Regions from separate parts of the Homo sapiens genome. Here all the other regions are linked to region 5. Evidence: promoter capture Hi-C in 16 types of primary human blood cells and fetal thymus (Javierre and others, 2016). All regions are on one chromosome and are shown on one strand. The core of a region is centred on a gene start or on the middle of the fragment in contact, and the rest is flanking DNA. Distances in the headings are between cores, read along the strand shown. Region 1 holds the start of ZNF544 (zinc finger protein 544). Region 2 holds the start of ZNF135 (zinc finger protein 135). Region 3 overlaps ZNF329 (zinc finger protein 329). Region 4 holds the start of ZNF497 (zinc finger protein 497). Region 5 holds the start of ZNF17 (zinc finger protein 17). Region 6 overlaps ERVK3-1 (endogenous retrovirus group K3 member 1). Region 7 has its middle 5.6 kb from the start of ZSCAN18.

The links. The method cuts DNA at HindIII sites, captures the fragments that hold promoters and counts their contacts. A CHiCAGO score of 5 or more calls a contact.
Region 1: the fragment with the promoter of ZNF544 here is called in contact with the fragment with the promoter of ZNF17 in region 5 in 2 of 17 cell types (total CD8 T cells and non-activated CD4 T cells); the score reaches 8.2 in total CD8 T cells.
Region 2: a contact is called between the fragment with the promoter of ZNF135 here and the fragment with the promoter of ZNF17 in region 5, in 7 of 17 cell types (total CD4 T cells, naive B cells, fetal thymus and 4 more). The highest score is 6.9, in total CD4 T cells.
Region 3: a contact is called between a fragment that was not itself captured here and the fragment with the promoter of ZNF17 in region 5, in 2 of 17 cell types (total CD4 T cells and naive CD4 T cells). The highest score is 5.7, in total CD4 T cells.
Region 4: a contact is called between the fragment with the promoter of ZNF497 here and the fragment with the promoter of ZNF17 in region 5, in 1 of 17 cell types (fetal thymus). The highest score is 6.1, in fetal thymus.
Region 6: a contact is called between a fragment that was not itself captured here and the fragment with the promoter of ZNF17 in region 5, in 1 of 17 cell types (neutrophils). The highest score is 5.4, in neutrophils.
Region 7: a fragment that was not itself captured here is called in contact with the fragment with the promoter of ZNF17 in region 5 in 1 of 17 cell types (total CD4 T cells); the score reaches 6.4 in total CD4 T cells.

The regions. Positions count from the first base shown.
Region 1 is chr19:58,227,368-58,230,310 of GRCh38, forward strand. It overlaps ZNF544 (zinc finger protein 544), which reads left to right and starts at 1,547. Exons shown (of 7, transcript NM_014480.4): 1 at 1,547-1,579; 2 at 2,101-2,203. RefSeq lists an enhancer at 1,423-2,249. The HindIII fragment of the contact is 1,767 bases long and covers 445-2,211 here.
Region 2 is chr19:58,057,761-58,060,642 of GRCh38, forward strand. ZNF135 (zinc finger protein 135) reads left to right here and starts at 1,522. Exons shown (of 5, transcript NM_001289401.2): 1 at 1,522-1,550; 2 at 2,209-2,275. The coding sequence starts at 2,243. The HindIII fragment of the contact is 3,956 bases long and covers 520-2,882 here.
Region 3 is chr19:58,129,601-58,132,300 of GRCh38, forward strand. All of the region lies in intron 3 of ZNF329 (zinc finger protein 329), which reads right to left. Among named protein-coding and RNA genes, the nearest start is that of ZNF329, 20 kb to the right of the region's middle. The HindIII fragment of the contact is 2,632 bases long and covers 1-2,580 here.
Region 4 is chr19:58,361,263-58,364,163 of GRCh38, forward strand. ZNF497 (zinc finger protein 497) reads right to left here and starts at 1,489. Exons shown (of 3, transcript NM_198458.3): 1 at 1,415-1,489. ZNF497-AS1 (ZNF497 antisense RNA 1) reads left to right here and starts at 1,364. Exons shown (of 3, transcript NR_136527.1): 1 at 1,364-1,490. It also overlaps the pseudogene RNA5SP473. RefSeq lists enhancers at 776-1,324, 1,054-1,183. The HindIII fragment of the contact is 6,825 bases long and covers 1-2,901 here.
Region 5 is chr19:57,409,751-57,412,450 of GRCh38, forward strand. It overlaps ZNF17 (zinc finger protein 17), which reads left to right and starts at 1,411. Exons shown (of 4, transcript NM_001330617.2): 1 at 1,411-1,656. RefSeq lists enhancers at 1,415-1,524, 1,605-1,664 and a silencer at 1,908-2,110. The HindIII fragment of the contact is 5,033 bases long and covers 1-2,585 here.
Region 6 is chr19:58,311,419-58,314,354 of GRCh38, forward strand. ERVK3-1 (endogenous retrovirus group K3 member 1) reads left to right here. Exons shown (of 4, transcript NM_001396080.1): 3 at 748-1,044. The coding sequence starts at 751. It overlaps ZNF8-ERVK3-1 (ZNF8-ERVK3-1 readthrough (NMD candidate)), which reads left to right. Exons shown (of 7, transcript NR_144447.1): 6 at 748-1,044. Among named protein-coding and RNA genes, the nearest start is that of ERVK3-1, 7.5 kb to the left of the region's middle. The HindIII fragment of the contact is 2,872 bases long and covers 12-2,883 here.
Region 7 is chr19:58,102,430-58,105,152 of GRCh38, forward strand. It overlaps a transcript of ZSCAN18 not described here. Among named protein-coding and RNA genes, the nearest start is that of ZSCAN18, 5.6 kb to the left of the region's middle. The HindIII fragment of the contact is 167 bases long and covers 1,352-1,518 here.

The sequences.
Region 1 (2,943 bases), core at 297-2,796, 820 kb after region 5:
CATTGCTATCTTATGTCCACTTTTAAGACTGAGGGAACCGGCCGGGAGCGGTGGCTCATGCCTGTAATGCCAGCACTTTGGGAGGCCGAGGCGGGTGGATCATGAGGTCAGGAGATCGAGACCATCCTGGCTAACAGGGAGAAACACCGTCTCTACTAAAAAAGAAAAATTACAAAAAATTAGCCGGGCGTGGTGGCGGGCGCCTGTAGTCCCAGCTACTCGGGAGGCTGAGGCAGGAGAAAGGCGTGAACCCGGAAGGCGGAGAGTGCCGTGGGCCTAGATCGTACCACTGCACTCCAGCCTGGTGGACAGAGCGAGACTCCGTCTCACAAAAAAAAAAAAAAAAAAAAAAAAAAAAAAAGACTGAGGGAACCTTCCCAGGAAACCCCTAGCAGCCTTATTTCTCCTTGGCCAGAATATCCTTGCCTAATTCACACAGCAAGAAGCTTGAGTCCATTCTGATTAGCTTAGAATCCATCAAGATCCTCCCTTAGGGAGTTAGATTCTAGATTTCCCGGAAGAATCTAAAAATTGCAGGGTCGTGCTAGCCAGGTATGAAAATAAGCAAGTAAAAAGATGATGACTGTTGGGTAAAGCTATCGACAAGGTCAGCTACAAAACAGTCAAGCCAAGGAAGGCTAGTCACAGATGCACCCCAGACACAAAAGCACAGTCCAGGAGCTGAGGGTGCCTGAGCCACAGTGGTTCCCGCCTACCTGGCCTTCGTAGGAAAGTTTCCTGTGGTCTCCCTCATTGAAGAGCCAGGACGGGTCAGGCGGTGGTGGGTCTCAGACATTGAGCCCCACAACGCACTGAGACTGAACATCAGACCATTTATAATAACAGAACTCTGTCCCACAACTTCTGCAGCAATAGGTACAAAACAGAACTTGGTCACTGCCAGCCTCCCTATTTTTTTCCCTGTCCCACTTAGGAGCTACCACAGAAAGCCAAATAGGCTCGACTGAGCGATCACCTAGGACGAATCGCCTCCAGTTAGCGTGCTTCCACCTTCCACTCGGAATGCTCCAAGCAGGGCACTCCCGGGGCTTTGTTTCTATCACTAGGACGCGTCCCCACGCCCAGGCTGTCCCTGAGTCCCTGCCACAGGCGCAGATGTTGGCGGGCGCCCTTGCCCCTGAGCTCCCGGTTAACGGCCTTGGACTGTTCTCATGGCTCAGTCTTGGTCTCTCTCCCCAGCAGGGCAAGGCGCCGGGAAGGCACCCGAGATGACAGCGCCGAGCCCCATAGGCGCTAGTCCCGCCCTGGACGCCGACCGCCGCCTCCACAGTCTCGGCTTCGGTTGCTGGATGAGAACCAGCGTGGCCCGTTTAAGGGGGAGGGGACAGGCGCTGCAAGGAGCAGAGCCGCGGGAAGCAACTCCCTAAGCCACAATGCTAGTCGCGAACACAGGAAAAAGCTCATCCCGCCGCCGCGGGGCCCCATGCTCCCGCCGGCAATGACTATGCCTGTGGGAGCAACGGCTACCGGCGCGCGGCCTTCTGGGAGTTGTTTGTTGCGCGGAGCGCGGGCACGTCCGCCGGCCACCGGAAGCACCGCCATTGGCCGGTGCGTGCAGGTGAGTCTGGCGGCCTCAAGGTTGGCTCGGAGGTTTCACTGTTAGCCGGGTGCGGCCGGAGCGCAGGACCAGGCCAGAGCCGCCCCAAGTGATCTGGGCGTGCCGGAGAAACGAGCAGGGCCTGCGGGGGTCCCTCATGCGGCGAGGCCGAGCAAGGGCAGGGGCCTGATGGGATCGGGATCTCTCCGGCCTCAGGGACGGGGAAGGCCGGTCCAGTCAGGTTTCCCCTGCAGGAGCGCCCGGCTGGGTCTGAGCTTGTCGGGAGGCTCTCCTGCTGCAGAGCTGGGAGGGAACTTATAGTACCTCGCAGGTACGGGCAGGGGTGGAACTGGGTGGGACTGGGTGGGACTGGGTGGGACTGGGTGGGACTGGGTGGGCCCTCCCGACAGAGGGTGCCTGGGTCGAGGGCTGCAGGGGCGGGGGATTCAGGCTGGCGTCTGGAGCTCTGGGGCTGCCGACCCAGCGGGCCTCTCCCGGCTCCTTTTTCCTCCCTCAACTCATCTTCTGCGGCTTATCCACAGGTGGCAGCCAAGAGCCTCCTGGCACAGCGGCACCAGGCAGGTGACGCCTATTGGACCCCAGAGGTCATCCCAGCTCCAGACGTGGACACATTTTCTTCCAATGGTACGTGAAGCTTGAACCTTGCAGAGAACATGTGTATTTTCCAAGTGAACAGAAGATTAAGGCCAGTCCACGCAGGGCAGGGGTAACTGGGGTGTTGGGGGCCTGCACTGGTTAAGCGATGCTGGTGCACCCCATAGAGAGACTACAGAGGTGAACAGGATGGGATGTGTATGTAACGCCTGTAAGTTAGGGATCGGGGTTCCATTTGTGTTGGGTGATATTTGATGGGGACCGTACAAGGCAGTGCTAATGAGGAAGGCATGGGGTTGGATTTCAAGAGTCTAAGGGAGTAGGGAAACATCTGATTGTGGAAATGACTCCGTGTAAGGAGGGATGCCAAAAGACAGGAAGGAGTGGAGGAAGACTGTGTTTCTGTTTCCAGCGTGGAGCCAGGGTAGAAGTCACAGTGCAAGGAAGATGTGGTATGCCTGGTCAGTCTCTGCATGGGAGTTGAGGAGCATGTGGGTGACATGGCTGAATGTGGAGGAGGGAATGGCAGTGGCAGGAAGCCCAGGAGGTTTGGGCTGGACACGTAACCTGGAGCAGATTGGAAACGTCACCCCACAAGCAGGGAAGGAGAAAACTGGAAAAGGAAAGAGAAAGCAACTCCCTCCCCAGCCCTGCAGCCAGAGGGACTTCTGCCAGATCAGCCACCATACAGGTCCAGTATGAGGAACAGATGGGGAATTTTATGTCCAAGTATAATCACTATGAATACATGTGTTGTGCCCCTTTTGCAG
Region 2 (2,882 bases), core at 272-2,771, 650 kb after region 5:
GGCTGGAGCCAAGCAGCACTTGCCCCTGTAGAAAGAGCCCGCCCCTGCAAAAGCATGTACGGTTTAGAAACCTGGCTGAGAAAAACAGAGGATCAGAAGGTCTGAGGGAGGAAACAGAGGGGCAAGTTTGAGGGAGCTGGGCAGGGCCGCCTGGCCACCATCAGGGCTGAGCAGGCTCAGTGTGGCACCACTGACAGCTTCTCACCAGGACTATCAGACCGCTTGGGAAAAAGACTTCACCATGAGTTGTGTGTTCATACCTTTTGATCCAGTAAAAGGAAACGGTTGGGGGTGGGGGTGGGGGGCAAGAGTATACATTTTGTGAAAGAAAAAATACACAAAAAGATGTTTTGTGGCATTTGGGTTTGTGAGTTCGAGAACTGAAAAACGGCATTTTATGTATAATGGAAAGCCTCTTTACTGCTGTAGAGTGAAAAGCAGGCTGGCTTTCAGTGCGACGGTCACAAATGTGGGGCTTTACAGTACTTGGAATGTACAGGACGCCCTTAAAAGCCAAGAAGCTTGCCTTTGCTTTGTTTACATCAGTGCATTATGATTTTGAGCCATTATATCTCTTCATAATTGCCACTGTTTTAGGGCTTATGAAATTTAAAGTCTTAACTTGTGTGTTAACCAGCCAAATCTTTGCAAGTGTCTGTGTGTGGTACGAGAATTCGTATTGTGTTCTCTGCTGTTTTCAGAGTTGTTTCAGTCAAAGAAAAAAAAATGCCCGTCTTAAAACTTTTCCTCTGCTTCAAATACAGCTCCCAAGCCCAGGCTGATTGGAATTAATCTGTCCTCCCTTAAAAGGGCAAAAGCACAAGGCTCAGCCCTGGCTTTCCCAGCTCCTCTGGTCTCGCTGCTCCACGGACGTGTGACGTACGCTGGTGAAACGAAGCCCGCTTGAATGGGGGCTTCACTATTGTGTGCTGCTGAACCTAGGCCTAGCGCCTGGCAGGCTTTGGTGAATGTTCAGAAAATGACAATTCATTTCGTGTCAGCGAGGGCACACCAGCTTTGAATATTTTGCTGCTGTTCAAATGCACAATTTTGACAATTACCTAGCAATGTCCAAAGTCGTCATAATTGTTAGTGTCTTGCACGTGATGTTCCTTATAACCATGTAATAAATACAGTGTGAAGTCTCCATGGCTGCCTCAGTGTGGAAAATGCAAAGACTCCCGTGTGTGCGATCTTGGTGAATGTTTTGGTTGAAAGTATGTGTTTTGAAAAAATCATTGCTTTGTTTGCAGCAGTAAAACTGACGGTAGAGTTTCCAACACGAAAGCCCGTGTGGTCGCGCCGGGAGCTCACGGCGTTCCAAGCGGCACTTATCCCGCGTTGATGCCCAGGCACCCCGCGCGCCCTGTTTCACCAGGCCCAGTCACTCCAGCTCCAGCAGCACTGAGAGCTCACGAACGCCAAGGGCGAGAGCGAGGTGGGGGAGGGCGGCCGGAAATGCGCGCGCGGCTCTCTGGGAAATGGAGTTAGGCTCGCGCCGGCGCAGTGTCGGCTGCCGGTGCCGCGGCCTTTGTCTCGCAGTCAGGAGGGTGAGCTAGGCCGGCGAGGAGGGGGAGGGGAGGCCAGGCCGGGCCGGGCCGGGCCGGGTGCGGGGGGTCCGGGGATCTTCCTGAGGCCCTGGCGGGGCGAGTTTCCAGCAGCGCGCGTCTGTGTGGAGTCCGTTTTGCTGCCCGGGGCCTGGGGAAGGCCGTTTCGGGGCTGGCGGGGGCAGGCTTTGCGGGGCATCCCTAGTCTGAGAGGAGGGCGGGGCCCAACGCCCAGCTGGACAGGAGCTGCTCCGACGGCCCCTGAGGGAACGCGCGCCCCGCCCCTGGCCCCACCTCTGCCCCACACCGGGCACTGGGCCGCCACCTTTGTTGATGGAAGAGAGAAACTGAGGCATAGTGCCCAGGGCCAGGGGACCGCAACCACCCGGCCCTTGTCACTGTAGCGTTAAGGCTCAGAGTCTGCGCAGCAGATATGTGTCCGCACCCGCCAGGCCTTCAGCTTCCCTCAGACAGGCGGGAAAACCCTAGGCTGCCCTTCTCCGAGCGGAGGGCCGCCCCACACACAGCAGGCGCTTAAACGGGTACGCGGGGCCCTGGACGGCTCTCCGCGGAGCTCCCCAGGCTCTGGCGCAGTTCCCCGGCTTGGGGACCTGAGCACCGCCTCTGCCTGCCCCAGCTGCTCACCTCCCCTTTCCCACAGAGCAGGGCCAGCCGTTCCTGCCAGAAGCCAGGGCATGACCCCTGGGGTGCGCGTCTCCACAGACCCGGTGAGAATCTCGGCCTCCTTGCGCGTGTCCTCCACCTCGTGCCCGGCCTCCTCGCGCGCGGCCTTCTCACGCCCGGCCTCCTCTTTGCACCCCGTCCCTACTCGCGCTCAGCCTCCTCCTTGTGCCCGGCCCCTACTTGCGTGCCCGGCCCCTACTCGTGCCCGGCCTCTACTCGCACAACTGGCCTCTACTCGCGCACCTGGCCTCTACTGGTGCCCGGCCTCTACTCGTGCCCGGCCTCTATTTGCACATCTAGCCTCTACTCGTGTCCGGCCTCTACCTGCACACCCGGCCTCCTAAAGTCCGCGCCAAGCTCCCCAACCACAGCCTGCCTCTGAAAGGACCGCCCACGCCGCGCTGGAGGTCAGCGGGCACGGGTCCCTGTCTGAGTGGGCTTTATGTTTGTGCGGCCGTCATTGCATACCTGAGGCTGGGTGATGTCAGAAAATTGTAGGTGCCCCGGCTCTGCAGTCTGAAGTTGAAGGCCTTAGCATGCTCTGCGCTCCAAGATGGCGCATCGAGTGCCGCTTCCTCAGACGTCATGGAGGCCAAGGGGGCGGAACTCGCCTTTTTATGATGACATTAACCCCACCCATAAGCCACCAGA
Region 3 (2,700 bases), core at 15-2,514, 720 kb after region 5:
TGTATTTTTTTACTTGTTTTCTCTTTTAAATTCAAATTTATACAAGGAAGAGGTAAAATCGTAGCCAAGGAATGGAACCAAGAACAGATTCAAAAAGAGCCATGTAGCATTTTCATCTTCCTAGAGAGCAGGCAGGAGGAATGGACCTCGGGATAAATCATCACCAAAAGGATTAGTTTGAGATGTGAGAGACCAGAGGCCAAGCATCCCTGCTCCCCCTAGAATTCCATCCCAGCCACTGCATTCTTGTCCCTGTCACACACTGCCCATCAGTACACATTTCCAAAGCTCTGACTTCACAATGAGCTTACAACAGCACTGAAGGAACAGTTCTCACCCCAGCTCTGTCATCAAAGTTCTGCATTCATGGATAGGACAAAGCACAGGCTTGGTGACCTAAAAGTTCTGGGTCTAAGTCTTAGAACTGTCAATGACCTGGCGGGGCACAGTGGTTCACTCCTGTAATCCCAGCACTTTGGGAAGTGGAGGCAGGTGGATCATTTGAAGTCAGGAGTTCAAGACCAGCCTGACCAACATGGTGAAACACCGTCTCTACTAAAAATACAAAAAAAATCAGCCAGGCGTGGTGGCACATGCCTGTAGTCCCAGCTACTCTGGAGGCTGAGGCAGGAGAATCACTTCAACCTGGTAGGCAGAGGTTGCAGTGAGCTGAGATCACACCACTGCACTCCAGCCTACGCGGCAGAGTGAGACTCCATCTCAAAAAACAAAACAAAACAAAAACTGTCAAAGACTGCCCTGCATGGTTGTTATAAAAACTGGATCATGTCGGCCAGGCGCGGTGGTCACGCCTGTAATCCCAGCACTTTGGGAGGCCGAGGTGGGCAGATCACAAGGTCAGGAGATTGAGACCATCCTGGCTAACGTGGTGAAACCCCGTCTCTACTAAAAAAATACAAACAATTAGCCAGGCGTGGTGGCGGGCGCCTGTAGTCCCAGCTACTCGGGAGGCTGAGGCAGGAGAATGGCGCGAACCCGGGAGGCGGAGCTTGCAGTGAGCCAAGATCGTGCCACTGCACTCCAGCCTGGGCCACAGAGCAAGACTCCGTCTCAAAAAAAAAAAAAAAAAAAAACTGGATCATGTACAAAGCAGTCTCCAAGGCTAGGGGATGAAGGGCATTCTGTAAATGGTTGCATGTGTCTTCATGCATATCAATCTTCCTGTCACCATCCTTGTCCATTCAGACTTCACAATATTAAGACAACTGGTTGTCCATTCATTCGTTCATTCATTTGGTGGGATCGGGTCTCGCTCTGTCATTCAGGCTGAAGTGCAGTGGTGTGATCTTGGTTCACTGAAGCCTCAATCTCAAAAACTTCAAGCAATTATCCCACCTCAGCCTCCCAAAATGCTGCAAATACAGGGATGAGCCATTGTGCCCAGCCTTCTTTCTATTTTTTAAGGTAAAATGAAAATAGACCCTTGCCTCAGAATACATACATACATATATGTCTACATTCTAGGCAATTTAAATATATATACATGTATATGTGTATATGTGTGTGTGTGTGTGTGTGTGCGCGTGTATTTACATTTCAGAAGGATACAGGCTGCAACATAAAGTCAAAGTTTAAATAATGTAGTATGCCTTCATAAGTGTGGCAGACTTTGATCAACAAAACTTAACCAAAAAACCATATGGCCAAGCATTGGGGGTCATGCCTGTAATCCCAGCACTCTGGGAGGCTGAAGTGGGAGTTATCACTTGAGCCCACACAGAAGGCTGAGGCTGCAGTGAGCTGTAATTGTGCCACTGCATTCCAGATTGGGCAAAAGAGACCATGTCTTAAAAACAAAAAACAAAAACCAAAAAATAAAAAACAGACAAGGATTAAGAAGTCTGATATCAGCATTCAAATTTTCCATCCAATAAAAGACACAATAAGAGACAAAATGCAAGTGGCAGATAGGGAGAAAATAGGACTTAAAAGCACAAAGAATTATTGCCCAAGAGCTATAGAGGATTCTTACAGAGAGAAAATAAGATTTAAAAGCACAAAGAATTACTGCCCAAGAACTACAGAGGATTCTTACAGAACAGCACATAAAAAGAAAAAAAATGGGCAAAGTAATCAAAGAGCACTTCGTGAAGGGAAAATAGAAATGTCCTGAAAACATTGGCTGGGAGCAGTGGGTCACGCCTGTAATCCCAGCACTTTGGGAGGCTGAGGCAGGTGGACCACAAGGTCAGGAGATCGAGACCATCCTGGCTGACACGGTGAAACCCCGTCTCTATTAAAAATACAAAAAATTAGCCAGGCGTGGTGGCGGGCGCCTGTAGTCCCAGCTACTTGGGAGGCTGAGGCAGGAGAATGGCATGAACCCGGGAGGCAGAGCTTGCAGTGAGCCGCGATAGCGCCACTGCACTCCAGCCTGGGCAACAGGGCGAGACTCTGCCTCAAAAAAAAAAAAAAAAGAAAGAAAAAAAAGAAATGTCCTGAAAACATCAATATTTATTTTCTCATTCTATCATTCAGGCAATTCCAAACTGCGACTTTAAGAACACAAAATATACACATTTCACGTGAGTAAAAATAAAATGAAGTACAATAATATAAAGCTTTGGTAGGTCACAAGGGAAGAGGGCTTGGAAAGTGGTCAGCGTGCTTGGCAGGGTACCTTAGTGGCAGCTGTGAAAACATAAACTGGGGGCAGGCGCGGTGGCTCACGCCTATAAT
Region 4 (2,901 bases), core at 239-2,738, 950 kb after region 5:
AGGGAAGGGTATGCGGCTCTGTAAGGGCAACACGGGGATCCTTCGTGATGGAAATATTCTGCATCTCAGTTGTGATATTGTACTCTAGTTTTTCTTTCTCTTCTCTTTTTTTGAGACAGAGTCTCGCTCTGTTGCCCAGGTTGGAGTGCAGTGGCGTGATGTGGGCTCACCGCGACCTCCGCCTCCTGGGTACAAGCGATTCTCCTGCCTGAGACTCCCGAGTAGCTGGGATTACAGGCACCAGCCTCCACACCCGCCTAATTTTTGTGTTTTCAGTACAGATGGGGTTTCACCATGTTGCTCAGGCTGGTCTTTAACTCCTGAGCTCAAGGGATCCACCCGCCTTGGCCTCCCAAAGTGCTGGGATTACAGACATGAGCCACCGCACCTGGCCTCTAGTTTTTCAAGATGCCACCTTTAGGGGAATTGGGTAAAGCGTACATAGGGTATGCATTACTTGTTACTGCATGTGAATTTATAATTACCTCAAATCAAAAGTTAAATTTTAAAAAAACGACATCTGATTTCAATAAAAATCCATATTTGTGTATTGAAGTATCAGAAATCCGGGTCCCCCAAGGGCCCATGTTTCTTAAGGCGGAGCCAGGCACCGCTGCCCCTCCATCCTGTGGTGTGCGACCCCGACCCGCCAGCCCCCAGCCGCATCTATCAGGGCTGCCGTCCTGAGTCCGTCCTCGTCGTGGGATAGCATGTGAGCCCCGTAAGGTCCTTCCTGTCGGCCTCACTGCTCCAGCCTCCCCGACGTCCTCACGTCCACGCTGCGTGCCCTTTCTGAGCCTCAACGCCTCCTCCTCACCTCGACATGATCAGAGCCACCTCCCGCGTCAGTCCCAGCGCCCACGCCCCCAACAACGGGCACTTGTCCGACCAGTCACGGGTACTTGTGTCTCCCCCACAACCCCCAAGGCCTAGGCTGGACAAACAAATACGGAGTGGATAAAGGGGAGGAAGCTGCGGCCAGGTGGCGCGAGGCCTGTGCGGGCAGCTCCGGAGGCTGGGAGGCGAGCCCAGCCTGGTGAGCTCCGAAACTACCCGGGGCTGGGGACTGATGAACGAATAAATGAATGTGGGAAGAAATGATGGCGCGGCAGGGCATGAGTGAATGAGTGAAAGAATAAACGAGCAGGAGGAACGATGCCACAGAACTGATCGCCATAAGGCTCGCGTTCACCGAGAGAACAGCAAACGGGAGCCATTTCCGTCCCGACCACGGTCGCCTCTGGCCCGTGCAGGGCCACTTCCGGGCCGCTCTGGACGGCGCGGAGGCCTATCTCTCGGTGGTCCCAGAGGGCCCAGCTCAGGGCCGAGGCCCGTCCTGCCCCGCGCGGCGGGAGTGGTTGGAGCCGGAGGGCGGATCTGTGCCTGGCCGAGGGTGTCCGTCGGCGTCACTCACCGTCCTCGGCCCGCCTCTGCGTCCACTAGGAGCGGCCTGAAAGAGGCCCGCACGCGGGCTCGAGCCGCGTGGAATGGTAGGAGGGCGGGCACCGGGTCTCCTGGGGGCGCGGTTGCATTCGGCAGAGCGGCCCAAGGCGTCGCGTTTCTCCCCACTGCGCCTGCGTAACTATGCCGCGGCTGCGGGCGCGCGCCTTCTGGTTCCCATGGGGACGGCGCCACAGCCAAGCTACTCGGGCGTCCTGCGTTGCCATGGATGCGCTCCGCCCCTTCCTGCACCCGGCCAGCCTCTGCGGCACACACCCAACAGCTACACAGGCGCCTGGGGCTGCCCGGGTCGCGGACGCAAGTCGGGCCAACGTAGCTTCTCCCTGGCGGTCCTCCTCCGGCCCCAGGCCGTCTTTACCACCCTGGAACCTTGCTGAGTTGACGCCACTGAGCTGCGTCTCACACCCACGCGCTGTGGAACACCCACCAAGCTGGAATCCACGCGGTTTTTAAAATAGAGTCGGGGGCCGGGCGCGGTGACTCACGCCTGTAATCCCAGCACTTTGGGAGGTCGAGGCGGGCGGATCACGAGGTCAGGAGATCGAGACCATCCTGGCTAACACGGAGAAACCCCGTCTCTACTAAAAATACAAAAAATTAGCCGGGCGTGGTGGCGGGCGCCTGTAGTCCCAGCTACTCGGGAGGCTGAGGCAGGAGAATCGCTTGAACCTGGGAGGCGGAGCTTGCAGTGAGCCGAGATCGCGACACTGCACTCCAGCCTGGGGCGACAGAACGAGACTCCGTCTCAAAAAAAAAAAAAAAAAATTGAGTCGGGATCTCAGAAGCTAAGCAGGGTCGGGCCTGGTTAGTACTTGGGAGACCGTCTGGGAACACCGAGTGCTGTTGGCTAAAATAAATAAATAAACCGGGCGCGGTGGCTCACGCCTGTAATCCCAGAACTTTGGGAGGCCGAGGCGGGCAGATCACGAGGTCAGGAGTTCGAGACCAGCCTGACCAACATGGTGAAACCCCGTCTCTACTGAAAATACAAAAATTAGGCTTGTTGGCGTGTGCCTATAATCCCAGCTACTCGGGAGGCTGAGGCAGGAGAATCGCTTGAACCGGGGAGGCAGAAGTTACAGTGAGCTGAGGTCGTGCCACTGCACACTCCAGCCTGGGTGACAGAGCAAGACTCCGTCTCAAAAAACAACATAGACCAGATGCTGTAAGCTAAAATAAATGAATAGCTAGAGACGGGGTCTCGCTATATGGCCCAGGCTGGTCTTGAACTTCTGGGCTCAAGTGATCCTCCCACCTTGGCCTCCCAAAGTGCTAGGATTACAGACCCGAGCCACTGCACCCGGCCTCCACGAGCTCTTTTTGTACCAATTTTTCCCAATTTGTACTAGGGAGCTCTCACCTCAGCCCAGGTGGTTTGGGCAGGTGTGGGTACATGGCCCAGGTCCACAGCACAGGGCAGTCCATCCCTCTGGCCCTGGC
Region 5 (2,700 bases), core at 161-2,660:
AAGTGATTTAATTTACAATTATAGTGGTAGAAAAATAGCTCTAACTTCTGAGGTTTTGTAATTTATTGTAAAAAGCGGAATACAGGACATTTAAAGTGACCTGACAAGGTCAATACAGGACTGAGGACTAATTCATTAAATACGTCTTACGTGTCTTAGAGGACCACAGACAGCTAGCAACCCTACTCCTAATGTGTCCCATGCACTTAGTATTGTACCTGGCATCGAATGAGTGTTCATCAAATATGTTAGAGTAATAAATACGACAGCACAGTTTCCCTATTCAGCTTTACTTTTCTGGTAACTCTTTTAATATATAGTCTTTACCTCTCCCTTCAAGCTGTTAATGCACAATGTTTTCAAGTTTGAAAAAGAATCAGATTTTGGACACCAAACTTGAGTGTGTCCAAGGTTCCAGGACAACCTTAGCTTTTTTCCTCCTATCACAAATATGTTTCTCTATAACTATTTTTGCCACTTTCTTTGGATATCTACATAATCGTCATTAATAGTTTCAGTAATAGCCATTTCACAAGAGTTATTCAGAGACAATTTCAACTCCCTGTGCAGACACTGTTGATACAATTTCAGGCGAAATGATAAATCACTTTCCACTAATGAGATGAGATCATGCATTCCCAAACCTTTATCTCAGGAGTAAGATGCTTTCTTTGCACAAGGGCTTTGACTGGTGGAAGGCCACACTATTCTGGCAGATAATGGTAGATAAGTCGCTTTTCCTTTTCAGTTAGGTTTCAGTCTCTTAAAATAAGTGGAAAATATCTCAGATATAAAGTAATAAGTATCATGTGAATAAAGTGTTGCTGGGTAGGCTGAAAGACAATAACTGATTATTCAGAAAGGAAAGATATTACTCCTCAAACTCCCCATCATGCCATGTCTGGGTCTTTTCAATGTGCCCAGCAGAGCACATTGAAGATCATAAAACAGTCTCCAGAGCTTCGTTCTGTGTGTATTTGGCAAGCACAAAAGAGCTGACCGCTATGCGTGGAAGACCAGTTCTTTATGGTTGGCCATGTTCCTTCGGATGTTCGTCTTTTGGGAACTTGCTGTGCTTTACAGAATCTGAAAGGACAGGTCTCTGAAACATTTCTCTGACTTGTTCTAGACTGCCTTCCGGGAAAATCTGGATGCTTGCCGTTTAAAAGCCAATGAAGCCCCTCCACGTCCTTGGAGCCCCGCAACTGCATTTCTCAAAGCCTCAGGAGGATCCTCCTGGCTTTCATCCTGAACGCGAGTTAACTTAAGTTCAGAAGCGGGGCAGGCAGTGGCCTGGGAACTACATTACCCAAAAGACACAGCGGCGGACACAAGCAGCGAGTGTAGCCAATGAAGGCCTAGCAGAGCGGCGTCTACGGGGGTTCGCAATGCGTGTGGGCGGGACTTCCTGCAACGCCTCCTGGGGTTGTCAATATGGCTGCGTTGGGATCTGTTCACCTTCAGGCTGAGTCGAGACTGAGGTGAAAAAGCGGAAAAACGCGAGAAAAGGTTTCCCCGTTGTACAGAGGCTAGAGTGAGGCTCGGTTGAATCGGTTGCAGGCGTTGGTGCCTCTGTCAGCGTCCAGGTCACTGCCGCTCCCGCCCCGCTCTTCCCTGGCTGTGCTGGCGGAGGCTGCGCCGATGAACCTGACTGAGGTGGGTGCCGCGTCCCAGGGCGCCCCGCCCGATCCCTCCTCCGAGTGCCGAAGCCCCGAGGAGGGGCCCTGCAGGTCAGGCCCCTGTGTCCCAAAGAGAGGAGCGTTCTTGTGTGGGGTACCGGTGTCCGCGGTGCTGTGAGGCGGGGGAGCTCCTGTCAGGGACCTGCACGTGCGAGGCTTAGAGGTGCTGCAGAGCGGGCGGCACTGGGGAGCCCGAGCGTCTTTGTCTCCACGGAGCTGAGGGTGAGGCGGAGTCTCGCCTGGGAGGGCAGCGGAGCTGCTGAAAGCCGTAGAAGGCTGTGCAGGAAGGGTTATGCCCAGAGGTAGACGTTTAAAGTTGGGAAAAACAGGATGTTAAACCAGGACAAGGGGACCGCTGAGGAGACCCCTTGAGTTATGGTAGGGATGGGCCAGAGGGGTTGCAGTAGAGGGGAAGTGTGATGAGATTCTGGATGGATCTCAGAGATAGAGTCGACAGGATTTCCTGCTGCATCAAATGTAGCAGTGAGGGTAGTGAAGGGTCTATTCCATGGATTTTGTTTTGGCCTGAAAATCTGAAAGAATGGAGTTGGAGAAGTCAGCTTAGGGAGCAGGTTTCAGAGAGGATTATGAGTTGCATTTTGGAGGGCTGAGTTTTGGAGGGCAGATCATGGGTGGGTCCATAAGCCTGACGCTACCTTTAGAAAGGCGCAGACCTGTCATAGGAGGGATTCTGGCTCATATCTGCAAAAACGGAGTTCTGAATGGGTTAAGGAACTGGCCTAGGCTGGAGACTGAGGTGTGAGGTGGTTTAGATTTCTGCACCTGCAGACCCAGCAGCCCCCCAGGCCCACTCTGTGGAACAATAGGAAGGTCATCCAGACTAGTGGGGACATTGGGTCCAGACGGGGGTAGGGCTTTCTCACATCTAGTCAAGGGCCTCCAGCAAGCTTCCAGCAACTGAATTTGTAGCAGGCAGGCCTGGTTGCTGATGGGACCAGTAACTGACCTGCTTGCTTATCCCCTCCCTGCAACTTATTTATTTATGAATGTGTAAAACATT
Region 6 (2,936 bases), core at 198-2,697, 900 kb after region 5:
CAACAAGCCCAAGCTTCCCATGCTTTACTGCATCAGAACAACTTGCCCTTACTCGTATGTTTCATCTGCCTCGCAGCCAGGCTTGAGTTATTGTGCAAGCCTGCCCCACTTGCCAGCATGTCCCTGGTGTTGCACCTGTGGAAGGATGCAACCCACGAGGCTTGGCTCCAAATGAAATCTGGCAGATGGATGTTACATATATATAGCAGCCTTTGGCTAACTCCGCTATGTTCATGTAATATAGACACTTACTCCCATATGTTACATGCCACATGCCAAACTGGGGAAACAGCTGGTCATGTCTGACGATACTGTCTGTCGTCATTTGCCCATATGGGGGTCCCTAAACAATTTAAAACTGACAGTGGACTCGCTTATGTTAGTCATGCTTTCCCAATTTTTTACAATTGTGGGCAATCAATCATAAAACAGGAATTCCATACAATCCCTGAGGGCCAGGCATTATTGAGCGGGTACATCAAACACTACAACGCATGCTGAAAAAACAAAAAGGGAGAATAGGGGACCAATTACCACTTCAAACAAAATTACATTTAGCCTTGTTTACTTTAAATTGTTTGACTCCTGGTACGGATGGCAAGACCCCAGCAGAACGACACTGGCAACTGCTAGAGGAAAAGAGGCAAGTTTATCCAAAAGTGTTATGGAAATCCCCAGAAGAAGGACAATGGAAAGGTCCGGTGGATTTGCTGACGTGGGGACGAGGGTATGCTTGTGTTTTTACAGGAGATGGACAAACCGTGTGGGTGCCCTCCAGGTGTGTGTGACCATGGAACGGGAGACCGGAGGGATCCATGGTATTCAACCGTGGGCCTGTTACCTCCAGTACGAGCCATGAGCCAGCGGAATCTGAATGCAAAGACAGAACAAGGGCCGACCGGAGTCACAATGACATCCAACCCCATAACATGGGGACAGATCAAGAAAACGACACAAGAAGCTGAGAAACTACTGGAGCGCCAGGGTCAGGCAAAAACCCCTGACTCCATGTTCTTGGCCATGCTAGCTGTAGTGTCCTGTGCGGTATGTTTCCCCTGTGTAGAGGCAAAAACATATTGGGCATATGTTCCTAACCCACTGGTAGTACGACTGGTACTCTGGAGCGACACTCCTCCTGAGATATATTATGATCAGGGAGCGTGGGCACCAGGACCCCTAACTCCGTCTGACACAGAGCAATAGCATCAATTACACCGGCCCATTGGAAGGACTCCCTTTATGTATCACCATGGATACGTCACTCAACTGCAGCTGTCTTGCAGTCCAATCTCAGGCATGGTTAAGTCACCATGGAAAAATTATGTATTTATTAGGCCTCAGCTTTATTAATGTTACTGGCGTGTTCACCAATCACTCCTAGCCCCATCACTCAAATTGTATGGATTATATGGAATGGGCTCCCTTTGATATTTCTCACCCCCCTCCTTGGACCCAGTGTCTTGGCCCCTTGGCCAGACAACAGTCTATGTTAATGGGAAACATTGACTGGGGTCCCCGTGGCCATTTAGAGGGGAGAGATGAAAATCAGACCTCTTGGCACAAACTTCACTGGCACTGGTGGTGGACCTTCAACACCTCTTCATCACATCACACTGGGATTCAGTCCCCCAGTTGGCTGCACAACTTGCTTGGTATAGGACAGGCTTTAACCCGCCCTTACCTCAGTGACGTCATCTAGGAAACAGAGGCCCAATTCAGGAATCGATATGGAAGGCAACACTCCCATTTATGAATAACAGCATCTGGGTCAGAACATTATCCAACAATAGTAATATTACTCAACACAGTTTTAATATCACCTTTGTAAAAAATATTACCACTCAATTTACGGTTTGTGGGTTTTTTGTTGTTGTTGTTAACTGTTTGAGATGGAGTCTCACTCTGTCGCCCAGGCTGGAGTGCAGTGGCGCAATCTCGGGTCACTGCAACCTTTGCCTCCCGGGTTCAAGCAATTGTCTGCCTCAGCCTCCCGAGTAGCTGGGATTACAGGCACCCGCCACCGTGCCAGGCTATTTTTTGTTTTTTGTATTTTTAATAGAAACGGGATTTCACCTTCTTGGCCAGGCTGCTCTTGAATTCCTGACCTCGTGATCCACCCGCCTTGGCTTCCCAAAGTGCTGGGATTACAGGCGTGAGCCACCATGCCCGGCCAGTTTGTGTTTTTAATCCCTATGTTTTTCTAGCATCTAAGAAGGACCAACTCCACGTAAACATCACCCAGTTGACTTGTGACTCTTGTCAACTGTATCACTGCCTCAATCATAGCACAATACAAACACACAACATATCCACTCTAATAATTCTGGGTCGTATCCCTGGATTATGGATCCCTGTCAATTTGTGCAAACCTTGGGCTGCCACCCCTGCTTTACATTTTGTAAAACTCCTTCTTACCCAGCTCACTCATCGTGCACGTAAAGCCTTAAACATAGTAATTTTTACTGTAATCTCCTTAGTCACACTAATAACCTCGGTTGTAGTGTCCTCAGTAGCACTACATAGTTCTATTCAAACAGCCCAATATGTAGAAAATTGGACATGTACAGCCAACCAGGCATGGATGCTTCAAAATAAAATTAATACCGAATTACAAACAAAGGTAGCAATGTTAAAGGCTACTGTTCTGTGGCTGGGAAAGCAGGTACAAAGTTTGCAATTGTAGCAGCAATTGCACTGTCATTTCAATCATATTCATATTTGTGTGACCAATTTGGAATAGAACCAAAGTGAATATCCATGGAACCTTGTAAAAGCTCATTTGCAGGGAGCTTTTACATCCAATATTACTTTTGATATCAGTAACTTACAGAGTAAAATTCTTAACTTGAATAAGCAAACTCAAAAATAACAGCCCTTTTTAGAAGCTTAAACAGAATTCCAGCAGGGCTTAGAAAGCCTCAACCCTGGCCGGGTGC
Region 7 (2,723 bases), core at 185-2,684, 690 kb after region 5:
CAGCCTGGGCGACAGAGCAAGACTCCATCTCAAAACAAACAAACAAACAAACAAACAAACAAACCATATACTCTTCTGTGCTGTTTGGCTTCCCCCCACATTATGAACTTTAAAAATCTTGCAATAAAATAACAATTATGGCTGACACAGGCTATAAGAAAGAAGGCAGGTAACAATGATTATTCAGCAAGGTAGGAAGGACTACAATGGCACACAGACTTGCCATTTTGTACTGCATCGGATATGTCAATGTTAATTGTCATCTCAGCAACAAGATTTTTTCCTTGAGAGTTGTATTTCTCCTCAAATGGACTCTCACTAGTCATTCAATTCCTCCTTCTGATATTACTCTTATTTCATTGATTCCAAGATAACAGATGGTAACATGTACATTTTATGTGCTAATAAAAGGCTGCCTGAGGCCTAGCACAGTGCCTCACACCTGTAATCTCAGCACTTTGGGAGGCCGAGGTGGGTGGACCACCTGAGGTCAGGAGTTCAAGACCAGCCTGGCAAAACCTCGTCTCTACTACAATACAGAAATTAGCTGGGTGTGGTGGTGTGCACCTCTAATCTCAGCTACTTGGGAGGCCGAGGCAGCAGAATCGCTTGAACCTGGCAGGTGGAGGCTACAGTGAGCCAAGATAGCACCACTGTACTCCAGCCTGGGTGACACAGCGAGACTCTCTCTAAAAAAAAATAAAAAAATAAAAAAAGGCTGCCAATTAAACCATATCACTGATTAACCTGGTTTGTTTTCAGATGTTAAAATATGGCAAGATATGTATCACAGAATAAAGGAAATACGGTAAGTCTTTAGGTTCTGTGTCACGACTAACTTCCAGATATAGGCATTACCTTGTTTTCTTGCACTTTGCTTAATTATCCTATGCAGATATTGCATTTTTTACAAGTTGAAGGTTTGTGGCAACCTGTGTCAATTAAGTCTATTGTCACCATTTATCAAACAGCATATGCTCTCTGTGTCTCTGTGTCACATTTTGGTAATTCTCACAATACTTCAAACTATTGCATTATTATTATCTGTTATGGTGATCTGTGATCAGTAATTTTTGTTGTAACTATTGTAATTGTTCTGGAGTGAAAGGAACCACGCCTATATAAGACAATGAACTCAGCAGATAAATGTTGTGTGTCCTGATTCCTCCACCAACCTGCCATTGCTCGCTGGTACGCACTCTCTCTCAATCTCTTTCCTCAGGCCTCCCTATTCCCTGAGACAAAACAATATTGAACTTAGGCCAGTTAATAACCCTACAATGGCCACTAAGTGTTCAAGTGAAAGGCAGAGTCAGACCTCTAACTTCAAATCAAAAGCTAGAAATGATTAAGCTTAGTAAGGAAGGCGTGTCAAAGACAGGCCAAAACTTAGCCCTCTTGTGCCAAACAGCCAAATTGTGATGGCCAAGAGAAAAACTTGAGGGAAATGAAAAGTGTGACTCCAGTGAATATGTGAATGACAAGAAACTGAAACAGCCTTGTCGCCAATAGGGAGAAAGCTTTAATGGTCTGGATAGGAGATCAAACTACCCAAAGAGAACTAACATTCTCTTAAGCCAAAGCCTAATCCAGAGCAAGGTCCTGACTCTCTTCATTTCTATGAAGGCTGTGAGAGGCGAGGAAGATGCAGAAGAAAATTCTGAGCCGGCCAGGCACAGTGGCTCATGCCTGTAATCCCAACACTTTGGGAGGCCAAGCGGGATGGATCACCTGAGGTCAGCAGTTCAAGACCAGCTTAGCCAACATGGTGAAACCCCACCTCTACTAAAAATACAAAAATTAGCTGGGCATGGTGGCGTGCGCCTGTAGTCCCAGCTACTCAGGAGTCTGAGGCAGGAGAATTGCTTGAACCTGGGAGGCGAAGGTTGCAGTGAGCTGAGATCGTGCCACTGCACTCCAGCCTGGGCAACAGAGTGAGGCTGTCTCAAAAACAAAACAAAACAAAACAAAACAAAAAAAAAGTCTGGGCCGGGTGTGGTGGCTCATGCCTGTAATACCAGCACTTTGGGAGGCAGAGATGGGCAGATCACCTGAGGTCAGGAGTTTGAGAACAGCTTGGTCAACGTGGCGAAACCCCATCTCTGCTAAAAATACAAAAAAAATTAGCCAGGCATGGTGGCAAGTGCCTGTAATCCCTGCTACTCAAGAGGCTGAGGCATGAGAATTGCTTGAACCCAGGTGGCAGAGGTTGGCAGTGAGCCGAGATCATGCCACTGCACACTAGCCTAGGCAAAAGAGTGAGACTCCATCTCAATAAAATAAAATAAAATAAAATAAAATAAAATAAAATAAAATAAAAAAGTCTGAAGCTAGCAGAGGTTGGTTCATGAAGTTTAAGTCATCTCCGTAACATAAAAGTGCAAGGTGAAGCAGCAAGTGCTAATGCAGAAGCTGCAGCAAGTTCTCCAGATTTAGCTAAGATCACTGAGGAAGGTCGCTACAGTAGACAACAGTTTAAATGTAAAGAAAACAGCCTTCTGTTGGAAGAAATGCCAGGTAGTGTTTTCACAACTAGAAAGAAGTCAGTGCCTAGCTTCAAAGCTTTAAAGAACAGGCCGACTCTTGTTAAGGGCTAATGCAACTGGTGACTTTAAGTTGAAACCAAAGCTCATTTACCATTCTGAAAACCCTAGGGCCTTAAGATTTAAGTTAAATCTACTCTGAGTGCTGTCTATAAATGTAAACAAAGCCTGGATGACAGT